2 separate regions of the Homo sapiens genome follow, and region 1 is linked to region 2. Evidence: promoter capture Hi-C in human tissues and cell types (Jung and others, 2019). All regions are on one chromosome and are shown on one strand. Each heading gives the region's core, a stretch centred on a gene start or on the middle of the fragment in contact. The rest is flanking DNA. Distances are from core to core; before and after follow the strand shown. Region 1 overlaps KYAT1-SPOUT1 (KYAT1-SPOUT1 readthrough). Region 2 holds the start of TBC1D13 (TBC1 domain family member 13).

Evidence for each region. The method cuts DNA at HindIII sites, captures the fragments that hold promoters and counts their contacts. A contact is called where the count stands out against the background at its distance.
Region 1: a contact is called between a fragment that was not itself captured here and the fragment with the promoter of TBC1D13 in region 2, in 1 of the 25 tissues and cell types used here (ovary).

The regions. Positions count from the first base shown.
Region 1 is chr9:128,846,267-128,852,821 of GRCh38, forward strand. The region is part of intron 1 of KYAT1-SPOUT1 (KYAT1-SPOUT1 readthrough); the gene reads right to left. The region is part of intron 1 of KYAT1 (kynurenine aminotransferase 1); the gene reads right to left. Among named protein-coding and RNA genes, the nearest start is that of SPOUT1, 20 kb to the left of the region's middle. The HindIII fragment of the contact is 3,862 bases long and covers 1-3,661 here.
Region 2 is chr9:128,784,118-128,790,716 of GRCh38, forward strand. TBC1D13 (TBC1 domain family member 13) reads left to right here and starts at 3,136. Exons shown (of 12, transcript NM_018201.5): 1 at 3,136-3,259; 2 at 4,217-4,290. The coding sequence starts at 3,237. RefSeq lists a silencer at 2,784-3,273. The HindIII fragment of the contact is 9,895 bases long and covers 1-6,136 here.

The DNA.
Region 1 (6,555 bases), core at 481-2,980, 61 kb after region 2:
TAAAAATACAAAAATTAGCTGGGCGTGGTAGCACGCACCTGTTATCCCAGCTACTTGGGAGGCTGAGGCACAAGAATCACTTGAACCTGGGAGGCAGACATTGCAGTGAGGCAAGAGCACACCACTGCACTCCAGCCTGAGCATTAGAGTGAAACTCAGTCTGGGAAAAACAAACAAAGAAACTTATCTGGGCGTCATGACACATGCCTGTAATCCCAGCTACTCAGGAGGCTGAGGCCTGAGAATCACTTGAACCTGGGAGATGGAGATTGCAGTGGGCCAAGATCGTGCCAGCCACTGCACTCCTGCCCGACCCAACGAGCAAGACTCTACCAAAAAAAAAAAAAAAAAAAAAAAAAGAAAGAAAGAAATTGGCCAGACCTGAGAGCCACCAAACTCAGGTCCTAACCCACCTTGGCTGGGTGACCCTGGATAGGTAATTTGGCTCCTCCTGTCCTCAGAATCCCTTCAGCAGCAGGGACCTCACATGGGCTTTGTGGTCCCTGAGGAACCTTCCGTTCCTGTGGGTTTGCCAGTCCCAGATGGCTGGTGGGCCGTGGAGCTGGGGATCCAACATTCTTCTCAGCCACCTGCTGTGGTCAATAGTGAACCCTGGCTCAGGATTTTGCTCAGTTCCACCTCGCTCAGTTCCCACTGCACTCTCACTAGAGGTGCCACAATAGTCTCCATCTAACAGATGAGGACACTGAGGCTTGAAGAGGCTCAGGTACCTGCCCAGGGTCAGAAGAGAAGCTGGCAAGGACCTGGTCAGGGTGGCAGCCACAGTAATCTCAACACCAGGCCCCCCTGTCCTGGAGGGGCCTTGGGACCATTTGAGTAAGTGCCAGGTCTTCCATGGCCCAGGAACCCCACCGCGCCTGGCTCAGTTGACATTTATTGAGTCCCTACCAGGTACTGGGTTCTGGGATGGGCACAGGGGATCATGGGAAGCAGCACCCTACAGCGCCCAAGCTGACTATTCAGATGCAGAGCTACAAGTTCTAGACTAGAGAAGCAGGGGCAAGGGAGAAGCCCACATACAGGCTGCAGTTAAAGAGGGCTCCCTGAAAGAGAAGGCTCATGCACAGCTTTGAAGCCAGGAACGAGCCAGACCCCAGAAGCCCCAGGCCATGCAGGTGGCAGAGTATTGGGGTTAGGGCACTTACAGTCTGGTGCAAGAACCAAGTGAGTGGGGCTCCAGCCTTCCTTCCCTGAAGGGGCCCCACCAGGTGCACAGAGATGGCTGCTGCAGTCCTGAACATGCCTCCCAGAGCCTTGGGGCACTGCAGACTTTTCCAGAGGCAGGGGAGAAGGGAGGAAACAGCCCTGGCCAGAAAATGCCTCCGAGCTCAGGACTTGGGTCCCCCACACACAGCTCTAACAATAACAACAACAACAACAACAACAACAACAACAATATGGTCATTGCGTGCCAGGAATAGCACCAAGTGCTCTGTTGCATGATTATCCGACTCCGTCCTTATAAGAACCCTGTTACTCATATACAATACACCCCCCAGCAACCCAAGTGACCCTTTCAAAACACAAATCACCTCTAATTAAAAAATGATCCAGGAGAGGATCACTGATAGCCCTGAATATCACCAAGAGCATAAACCAAACATGTTCTGACTCTGGAAACACATACACCACCTGCAAATTATTCCTGCTGTAAAAGTGGCCCTAAATTAGATCACACTGTTGAATGACTAAAATACAGGGACAGAAGAACATGTTAAATAACACCATGGAGATGCAATCAACAAATTCAAGCAGGGCAATGTGTCTCACACCTGTAAACTCAGCACTTTGGGAGGCCAAAGCAGGAGGATCTCTTGAGCCCAGGAGTTTGAGACCAGCCTGGGCAACATACTGAAACACCGTCTCTACAAAAATACAAAAATTGACCAGGTGTGATGGTGCACACCTGTAGTCCCAGCTACTGGGGAAGCTAAAGTGGGAGAATCACTTGATCCTGGAGAGGTCAAGGCTACAGTGAGCCATGATCCCACCACTGCACTCCAGCCTGGGCGACAGAGGGAGATATGTCTCAAAAAAAAAAAAAAAAAAAAAAGTAAATGCCTGAAAAAGAAGAAAAAAATTGAAGAAATCACACTGCACAATTTGGAAGCTTAATGCAAACATACAGGAACCAAGAAAGTGTGATACTGCTTAAAGATAGATATATAAGTCAATTGAATAGAACTGACAGTCCAGAAATAAATGGTCACAATTGCTATTTGATAAGATGCTAAGAAACTCAAATGGGGGCCAGGCATGGTGGCTCACGCCTGTAATCCCAGCACTGTGGGAGGCTGAGGCGAGTGGATCACTTCAGGTCAGAAGTTTGTGACCAGCCTGGCCAACATGCTAAAACCTCGTCTCTACTAAAAATACAAAAATTAGCCAGGCATGGTGGTGTGCACCTGTAATCCCAGTTACTGGGAGGCTGAGGCAGAAGAATCACTTGAACTTAGGAGGTGGAGGATGCAGTGAGCCGAGATCACGCCACTCACTGCACTCCAGCCTGGGTGACAGAGTGAGACTCTGTCTCAAAAAAAAAAAAAAAAAAAAAATTGGGAGGCTGGGTGTGGCTCATGCCTGTAACACGAACACTTTGGGAGGCCAAGGCGGGAGGATCATTTGAGGTCAGGAGTTTGAGACCAGCGAAACCCCATCTCTAATAAAAATACAAAAAATTAGCTGGGTGTGGTGGCACATGACTGTAGTCCCAGCTACTTGTGAGGCTGAGGCAGGAGAACTGCTTGAACCTGGGAGGCAAAGGTTGCAGTGAGCCAAGATCGTGCCACTGTACTCCAGCCTAAGCGACAAAATGAGACTGTCTCAAAAAAAAAGGTGGGGAGGCCAGGCATGGTGGCTCATGCCTGTAATTCCAGCAATTTGGGAGGCTGAGGTGGACGGATCACCTGAGGTCAGGAGTTCGATACCAGCCTGGTCAACATGGTGAAACCCCATTTCTACGAAAAATACAAAATTAGCAGGGCATGGTGGCACATGCCTGTAGTCCCAGCTACCCAGGAGGCTGAGGCAGGAGAATCGCTGGAACCCAGGAGGCGGAGGTTGCAGTGAGCCGAGATCACACCACTGCACTCCAGGCTGGGTGACAGAGCAAGTCACCGGCTCAAAAAAAAAGCGGGGGTGGGGGGTGGGAAATAATAATCTTTTCAACAAATGAACAAATGGTGCTGAGACAACTAAATATCCACATGTAAATGAATGAATTTGGGGCCAGGCGTGGCAGCTTATGCCTGTAATCCCAGCACTTTGGGAGGCCGAGGCAGGCTGATCATGAGGTTAGGAGCTCAAGACCAGCCTGGCCAAGATGGTGAAACCAAGATGGTGTACTAAAAATACAAAAAATTAGCCAGGCATGGTGGTTGGCACCTGTAATCCCAGCTACTCAGGAGGCTGAGGCAGAGAATTGCTTCAACTTGGGAGATGGAGGTTGCAGTGAGCCGAGATCACGCCACTGCACTCCAGCCTGGGAGACAAAGTGAGACTCTGTCTCAAAAAAAAAAAAAAAGAAAAGAAAAGAAAAGAATGAATTTGGACCTCTATCTCACAGAATACACACATATAAATTTTTTATTTTCTTCTTTTTTTTTTTTTTTTTTTGAGATAGGGTCTCACGTTGTTACCCAGGCTGGAGTGCAGTGGTGCCTTCTCAGCTCACTGCAGCCTCGACTTCCTGGGTTCAAGTGATTCTCCTGCCTCAGCCTCCTGAGTAGCTGGGATTATACGTGTGTGCCACCATGCCTGGCTAATTTTTGTATTTTAATTAGAGATGGGGTTTTGCTATACTGGCCAGGCTGGTCTTGAACTCCTGGCCTGAAGTTGTTCTGCTCATGACGGCCTCCCACAGTGTTAGGATTGCAGGCATGAGCCACCATGCCTGGCCAGCCCAGGCTGTTCTTGAACCCCTGACTTCAAGCGATCCTCCTTCTTCAGTGTAGGGAAAAGAAAGAGAGATCAGACTGTTACTGTGTCTATGTAGAAATGGAAGACATAAGAAATTCCATTTTGACCTGTACCTTGAACAATTGCTTTGCTGAGATGTTGTTAATTTGTAACTTTGCCCCAGCCACTTTGCCCTAACTTTGAGCTCACAAAAACATGTGTTGTAGGGAACCAGGGTTTAAGGGATCTAGGGCTGTGCAGGATATGCCTTGTTAACAAAATGTTTACAAGCAGTATGCTTGGTAAAAGTCATCGCCATTCTCTAGTCTCAATAAACCAGGGGCACAATGCACTGCAGAAAGCCACAGGGACCTCTGCCTTGGAAAGCCGCGTATTGTCCGAGGTTTCTCCCCATGTGATAGTCTGAAATATGGCCTCGTGGGATGAGAAAGACCTGACCGTCCCCCAGCCCAACACCTGTAAAGGGTCTGTGCTGAGGTGGATTAGTAAAAGAGGAAAGCCTCATGAAGTTGAGATAGAGGAAGGCCACTGTCTCCTGCCTGCCCCTGGGAACTGAATGTCTCAGTATAAAACCTGATTATACATTTGTTCAATTCTGAGATAGGAGAAAAACCACCCTATGGCGGGAGGCGAGACACATTGGCAGCAATGCTGCCTGCTATTCTTTACTCCACTGAGATGTTTGGGTGGAGAGAAACATAAATCCGGCCTACATGCACATGCAGGCATAGTACCTCCCCTTGAACTTAATTATGACAGATTCTTTTGCTCATGTTTTTTGCTGAACTTCTCCTTATTATCACCCTGCTCTCCTACTGCATTCCTCTTGCTGAGATAATAAAAATAATAATCAATAAAAAGTGAGGAAACTCAGAGACCGGTACTGGTGCAGGTCCTTGATATGCTGCATGCCGGTCTCCTGGGCCCACTGTTGTTTCTCTACACTTTGTCTCTGTGTCTTATTTCTTTTCTCAGTCTCTCATCCCACCTGACGAGATATCCCACAGGTATGGAGGGGCAGGCCACCCCTTCATCTGACGCCCAATATGGGGCCTTTCTCCAGGGTGAAGTTATGCTGAGAACGTGAGTATTGAGGACAGCTGATGAGAGATTCCCGAGTACGTCCACGGTCAGCCTTGCAGTATGCTTGTGCGCTCGGAGGAATCCAGGGTAACAATGGGGCAAACTGAAAGTAAATATGCCTCTTATCTCAGCTTCATTAAAATTCTCTTAAGAAGAGGGGGAGTTAAAGCTTCTACAGAAAATCTAATTACGCTATTTCAAACAATAGAACAATTCTGCCCATGGTTTCCAGAACAAGGAACTTTAGATTTAAAAGATTGGGAAAAAATTGGCAAGGAATTAAAACAAGCAAGTAGGGAAGGTAAAATCATCCCACTTACAGTATGGAATGATTGGGCCATTATTAAAGCAACTTTAGAACCATTTCAAATAGAAGAAGATAGCATTTCAGTTTCTGATGCCCCTGAAAGCTGTGTGATAGATTGTGAAGAAGAGGCAGAGACAGAGTTCAAGAAAGGAACGGAAAGTTCACATTGTAAATATGTAGCAGAGCCGGTAATGGCTCAGTCAACGCAAAGTGTTGACTACAATCAATTACAGGAGGTAATATATCCTGAAACATTAAAATTAAAAGGAAAAAGTCCAGAATCATTGGGGCCATTGGGGCTACAACCACAATGGCCACCTCCTCCTCAGCCGAGTGAGTGCTGGGGGAGGCAGCCTGAAACTAGGCACACTGCGACTTGGCTCGTGGCACTCATTATTGCCCAACCTACAGTTCACTACAGTGAAGGAGCAATTCAGACTCGCCCTGCAGTGTCCTGTATGGGTCAAACAGTGGCCACTCTCTAAGGAAAAGTTGGGGGCGCTACATAAAATAGTTAAAAAACTATTTAAAAAAGGACATGTTTCACCCACTTTCTCTCTTTAGAATTCTCCTGTGTTTGTAATTCAGAAAAAATCAGGCAGATGGCGCATGCTGACTGACTTAAGAGCTGTTAATGCCATAATACAACCCATGGGTGCTCTCCAACCCGGGATGCCCTCTCTGGCCATGATCCCCAAAGACTGGCCTTTAATTATAATTGATCTGAAGGACTGCTTTTTTACCATTCCTCTGGCAAAACAGGATTTTGAAAAATTTGCTTTTACTATACCAGCCGTAAATAATAAAGAACCAGCCAGGTTTTAGTGGAAAGTGTTGCCTCAGTCCAACTATTTGTCAGACTTTTGTAGCTCAAGTTCTTCAACCAGTTAGAGACAAGTTTTCAGATTGTTATGTCATTCATTATGTTGATGATATTTTGTGTGCTGCAGAAACAAGAGACAAATTAATTGACTGTTACACATTTCTGCAGACAGATGTTGCAAACGCAGGACTGACAATAGCATCTGATAAGATTCAGACCTCTACTCCTTTCCATTATTTGGGAATGCAGGTAGAGGAAAGGAAAATTAAACCACAAAAAATAAAAATAAGAAAAGACACATTAAAAAACATTAAATGACTTTCAAAAATTGCTAAGACATATTAATTGGATTCGGCCAACTCTAGGCATCCCTACTTATGCCATGTCAAATTTGTTTTCTATC
Region 2 (6,599 bases), core at 1,886-4,385:
AGCAGGCACCTGTAATCCCAGCTACTTAGGAGGCTGAGGCAGGAGAAGCACTTTAACCCGGGAGGCGGAGGTTGCAGTGAGCCGAGATTGCGCCACTGCACTCTAGCCTGGTGACAGAGTAAGACTCCGTATCAAAAAAAAAAAAAAAAAAAGTACAATAGGCTTGGCATGGTGATGCACGCCTGTAATCCCAACACTTTGGGAGCCCGAGGTGGGTAGATCACCTGATGTCAGGAGTTCGAGACCAGCCTGGCCAACATGGTGAAACCCCGTCTCTGCTAAAATACAAAAATTAGCCAGGTGTGGTGGTGGGCGCCTGTAATCTCAGCTACTTGGGAGGCTGAGGCAGGATAATTGCTGGAGGCAGAGGTTGCTGTGAGCCAAGATTGCGCCATTGCACTCCAGCCCAGCCAAGAACAGAGAGACTGTCTCAAAAAAAAAAAAAAAAAAAAAGTACAATAAAGAACGGGCAATAGGGACAGGCATGGTGGCTCATGACTGTCATCTCAGCACTTTGGGAGGCAAAGGTGGGCAGATCGCCTGAGGTCAGGAGTTCAAGACCAGCCTGGCCAACATGGAGAAACCCGTCTCTACTAAAACTACAAAAATTAGCCAGGCATACTGGCGCGCGCCTATAATCCCAGCTACTTGGGAGGCTGAGGTAGGAGAATTGCTTGAACTCAGGAGGCGGAGGTTGTGGTGAGTGGAGATTGCACCACTGCACTCCAGCCTGGGCAACAGAGCCAGACTCCATCTCAAAAAAAAAAAAAAATTAGAAGGCCAGGTGCTGCCAGGCATGGTATCTCACGCCTGTAATCCCAGGATTTTGGGAGGCCGAGGAGGGAGAATAACCTGAGGTCAGGAGTTTGAGGCCAGCCTGGCCAACATGATGAAAACCCGTCTCTACTAAAAATACAAAATTTTTTTTAAATCAAAAAATATAAAAATTAGCCAGGCAGGGTGGCATGAACCTTTAATCCTAGCTACTCGGGAGGCTGAGGCAGAAGAATCGCTTGAACCCGGGAGGCAGAGGTTGCCGTGAGCTGGAGATCACCCCATTGCACTCCAGCCTCGGCAACAAGAGTGAGATTCCGTCTCAAGAAAAAAAAAAAAGAAGGCCAGGCATGGTAGCTCATGCCTGTAATCCCAGCACTTTGGGAGGCCTGAGGTGGGCAGACACTTGAGGTCAGGAGTTTGAGACCAGCCTGGCCAACATGATGAAACCCTATCTCTACCTCAAAATACAAAAATCAGCTGGGCATGGTGGCATGCGCCTGTAGTCCCAGCTACTCAGTAGGCAGAGGTTGCAGTGAACTGAGATTGCGCCACTGCACTCCAGCCTGGGGTGACAGAGTGAGACCATGTCTCAAAAAAAAGAAAGAAGAGTATATATGCATAGCAAACGTGTGAAGAGATGCTCAACATCATATGTCTTTAGGGAAATGCATGTTAAAGCAGGAGATACCACTTCACATCTACTAGAATGTCTAAGATTAAAAAGACTGACCACATCAAGTATTGGTGAGGACGTGGTACAACAGCAACTCTCATATACTGCTGGGGTAGGTGTTAAATAATACAACCATTTTGGAAAATATTTAAGCACTTTCTTTTCTTTTTCTTTTTCTTTTTTTTTTTTTGAGATAGAGTGTCGCTCTTTCGCCCAGGCTGGAGTGCAGTCGTGCAATCTCCACTCACTGCAAGCTCTGCCTCCCAGGTTCATGCCATTCTCCTGCCTCAGCCTCCCGAGTAGCTGGGACTACAGGCACCCACCACCACGCCCGGCTAATTTTTTTCTTTGTATTTTTTAGTAGAGATGGGGTTTCACCGTGTTAGACAGGATGGTCTCGATCTCCTGACCTCATGATCCGCCCTCCTTGGCCTCCCAAAGTGCTGGGATTACAGGCGTGAGCCACCGCGCCTGGCTAGCTGTTTCTTTCTTTTTTTTTTTTTCTCAAGAAAAAGGTGTTAAATAATACAACCATTTCGGAAAATCTTTAAGCAGTTTCTTTTCTTTTCTTTTCTTTTTTTTTTTTTTTTGACAGGGTCTTGCGTTTTTGCCCAGGTTGGAGTGCGGTGGCGCTATTGGAGTGCGGTGGCACTATCTCGGCTCACTGCAAGCTCCGCCTCCCGGGTTCAAGCAATTCTCCTGCCTCAGCTTCCTGAGTAGCTGGGATTACAGTTGTGCGTCACCACACCCGGCTAATTTTTGTATTTTTAGTAGAGACGAGGTTTCACCATGTTGGTTAGGCTGTTCTCAAATTCCTGACCTGGTGATCTGCCCGCTTCAGCCTCCCAAAGTGCTGGGATTACAGGCGTGAGCCACCACGCCCGGCCTACTCAACTAATTTTTACATCTTTTGTAAAGAAGGTAATCTCGAGGAGCTGGGATTACAGGCGCCTGCCACCACGCCCGGCTAATTTTTGCATTTTTGGTAGAGACGGGGTTTCACCGTGTTGGCCAGAGTGGTCTCCAACTCCTGACCTCAAGTGGTCTGCCTGCCTCGTCCTCCCAAAGCACTGGAATTTACAGGGATGAGCCACCGCGCCCGGTCCAGCCTATTTTTCTTAAGATATCATTTGTGTTTTTTTCTTTCTTCCTAACTTACATTTTATAGGGTTTGCTGGTATAGTTTTTATAAAAAAAAAAAAAGTTGGGCCGCGCACGGCGGTTCATGCGAGTCCCTGCTATACAGGCCTTGAGGATTCTGCAGAGACCAAGATAAGCTGGGGGGCCTGAACAGTTTAGCAGGGGAGGCCGAGACTCCTGTAACAATCATGCAGTAGTTAATTACAGGGGGGTGAGTGCAGGGAAGACGACAGGGTGACAGGTATATTGCGTAAGTAGACACTGAGGCCCAGGGAAGCGCAAGGAATAGTCCAGAGACACACAGTCTGCGCTGTCACCGGCGGGTTCTCAAATTTGGCCCGCAGGGTCGGCGGCGCTGGGGCTCCCGGCCCGCGATTGCCACGCCCACCAGACCCGAGGTTGCCCCGCTCAACCCGGCCGGCCGTAGCCGCCAGTACCGTGTGGAAGCGTGAGAGTCGAGGGGTGGCACGTGACTGGCGGGGCGGGGCGGGGCTGAGGCGGTGGAACGCGCAGGCTAGTGGCTGTGTTTCCCGCCGGAGGCTTTTGCGCAGAGCCCCGCGTCCCTGGGGGGCGGCGGCGGCGGCGGCAGCGCAGGCGGCAGAGGCGCAGGCGGCGGAGGCGGCTGGGGGGTCCGGAAGTCAACACCATGTCAAGTCTGCACAAGAGCCGGTAAGGGGCCATGGGGCCTGACCCGGCTGGGCCACTCCTGGCCAGGCTGCCCCTTCTGCCCCTCAGAAGGGGGAAGCGCGGGTGTGGCCAGGAATCGGCAGACCCCCTCGGCAGAGGGTCTCGAGCGTCCACCTTCTAACCTCATTGCCTGTGGGCTGCAGGAACGACGGAGGGGCGGCCCTTCTCCTGCCCCTGATGTCACTGCTTCTGCCTCCCTCATCCTGGACCCCTGGTGTCCCCCTTCCCCTGAGTCTTCCTCATCCAGACCCCCATGCCCCGCCCCCGTGCCTTTCCCCCTTTTGATCCCCCTGCTCCCGTACTCTCTCCAAGTGCACCCTGTCCCCCGTGCCTTTTTCTTACTAGGATTGCTAGAGAACTTGCATTCTCCAGTCTGGCCCCTCCCCCAGGCCAGATCCTGCAGCATTGGCTGAATTTTGCTCACTCTTCAGTTTTCCTTCAGGACGTGTTTTTTAAACCCTTTGTCCTTGCCTTCTGGCAGGCCCAGAGGTCTTGTAATGGTTATATTTGTGAGCATGGTCCATTGTCTGCATATCAAATTACTCCTGGTTCCTGAGGTCCAAGGAGTTCAGTTGGTGGCTGTGCGTGGACCCGGCCTGGCCGGCAGGAAGTGCCCAGTAAATGTCAGCTCACTAAGTATTAGAATGTTGGAATATGTCTAATTTTATGGTCCTCATTTGGGAACTTCTAGACAAGAATATCTCTCAAGTTTCTTCCCTGGCATTCTGTGTTTCTGGTTGTAGAGGAAGAAGTGAAATATAGTTTTGTTGTTCTCCAAAGCTGTCTTTGGTGAGGACCTTGACTAAGCTGTGTGATTTTTATGTCCTAAAGGGGAGAGAGGCACAGGTTGGAAACTGGCAGTGTGAGGGAGCTGAGGGCTGTGGGTCTCACTGAGCCGATATCAGCATGCTTCATTTGCCGCCCTATCTCCCCTTCCAGAATTGCAGATTTCCAGGATGTCCTGAAGGAGCCCTCAATTGCATTGGAAAAGCTGCGGGAACTCAGCTTTAGTGGTAAGAAGCCATTCTGTATTTTCACGGTTTCCCTACAGCAGCCCTGTGGCTAGAATACAGGGGGAGGCCACACCTGGTCAGCTCTGGGGCCCAGCTGCTGGGGGCTGGGGCCTTGGAAGGAAATTACACACAGACTCTTGGGGCCTTTTCCAGATTCTGTAGAGCTGAACAGGCAGTGACTGCCTTGAGCTTGGAGGGGTTTCCCAGAGGGGCAGTGGCCACACTTAGCATGCCCTAAGCTTTCCTAAGCTTTCCGCAGGAGGTGCCAGATTCCTGAGAGTAACAGGACAGGACTGAAGCCTGGAGAATGAGAGTTGGGACCTTTTGAGCCCAGGACAGTCTTTCCTCATTCCTTAGCTAGCTTCCTGTGTTGGTGAGTTTGGTTAACTGCAGGGTTGTTCCTTGTTCTCTCCCTGGCTTGGGGTCTAAGCTGCCTGAACTAAACCTTGGCTAGTGGTAAAATGGGTAGCCTTGGGACACTGACTTTAAGGAGCTGATCCTGCTGTGTTAGACTTTGCCCCAATGAGCACAAAGATAACTCTCTTTTTGCCTGTTTTAAAAAATATCCCAACGTGTTCTGCATAGCTTCTTGTCACTTTTTTGCCCTTGTAACTTTGCCAGCAAGAACTTCTGGCCGGGTGCCGTGGCTCATGCCTGTAATCCCAACATTTTGGGAGGCCAAGGCAGGTGGATCACCTGAGGTCAGGAGTTCGAGAACAGCCTGGCCAACATGGTGAAACCTAGTCTCTACTAAAAATATAAAAAAGTAGCTGGGCTTGGTGGCACTTGCCTGTAATCCCAGCTACTCGGGAGGCTGAGGCAGGAAAATCACTTGAACCTGGGAATTGCAGTGAGCCGAGATTGCGCCATTGCACTCCAGCCTGGGCGACAAGAGTGAAGCTCCATCTCAAAAAAAAAAAAAAAAAAAAGAACTTCTTATATTGTCCCTGTCATCCTCATATAGATTCTGAAGTGGAGGTATTCACTCATGTTCATGGTACCAGGGATACTACAGCAGCAACTGCGGTAGTGAGCTTCCTGATCTTATTGCAGGATAACTTTGTCTTTCTGTTTAGGAGTGAAATATAGGCCCCAAAGGAGAGGCAGTCAGTGTTAGTAGTTAAGAGTTTTACAGATAAGTTTCCTTCTTACGACAATTACGTTAATCTTCCCTACTTACTGGGGTAATAATGAAGATTAAATGAAATAATATCTGTAAAGCACAAAATACTTAGCATTCGTAGCTTAGTTTATATTCCACAAATATGTATGGAATATCTTCTATGTGCAGTGCTCTGTGCTATGCACTGGGAATAATAGATGTGGTTTTTGTCCTTCTGGGGCTTACCCAGTAGTAGGGGTTACAGACGTTAAGAAAATACACCATATATATATATATATATATAATAATTCCACTTATGACAGATGCTATGAAATAGTCACAGAGCCATTATTGCTTATAACAGGGGGAACTGACCTGAATTAGGATGACATGGTGGTGGTAAAGGCTGCTCCTGAGGAAGGAATATCAAGGATGAGAAGGTGTTATCCTCAAAAGAACATTTCAGGCCGGGCATGGTGGCTCACACCTGTAATCTCAGCACTTTGGGAGGCTGAGGCAGGTGGATCACCTGAGGTCAGGAGTTCGAGACCAGCCTGGCCAATATGGTGAAACCCTGTCTCTACTAAAAATACAAAAATTAGCCAGGAGTGGTGGCACACATCTGTAATCCCAGCTACTTGCAAGGCTGAGGCAGAAGAATTAGTTAAACCGGGGAGGCGGAGGTTGCAGTGAGCAGAAATCACGCCATTGCACTCCAGCCTGGGCAACAGAGCAAGACTTTGTCTCCAAAAAAAAAAAAAAAAAAATTAGCATCCAGTCTAGGCTGGGTATGGTGGCTCACGCCTGTAATCCTAACAGTTTGGGAGGCCGAAGTGGGGGGATCACCTGAGGTCAGGAGTTCAAGCCCAGCCTAGCCAACATGGTGAAACCTTGTCTCTACTAAAAATACAAAAATTAGCTGAGCACAGTGGCGCGTGCCTGTAATCCCAGCTACCTGGGAGGCTGAGGCTGGAGAATCGCTGGAACTCGGGAGGCGGAGGCTGCAGTGAGCCGAGATTGCGCCACTTCACTCCAGCCTAGGTGTTAGAGGGAGACTCCATCTCAAAAAAAAGAAACCATCCAATCTAGTCATCTTTCTTGGGGAAATGATTCTTGAAGAAGTACTTCTTGCCCACTCTACTCCCCGCCAGTTGGCTCCACGGTGAAGGGCTGGGGGTTCTGGGACTCTGGCCTGGGGCATGACCTT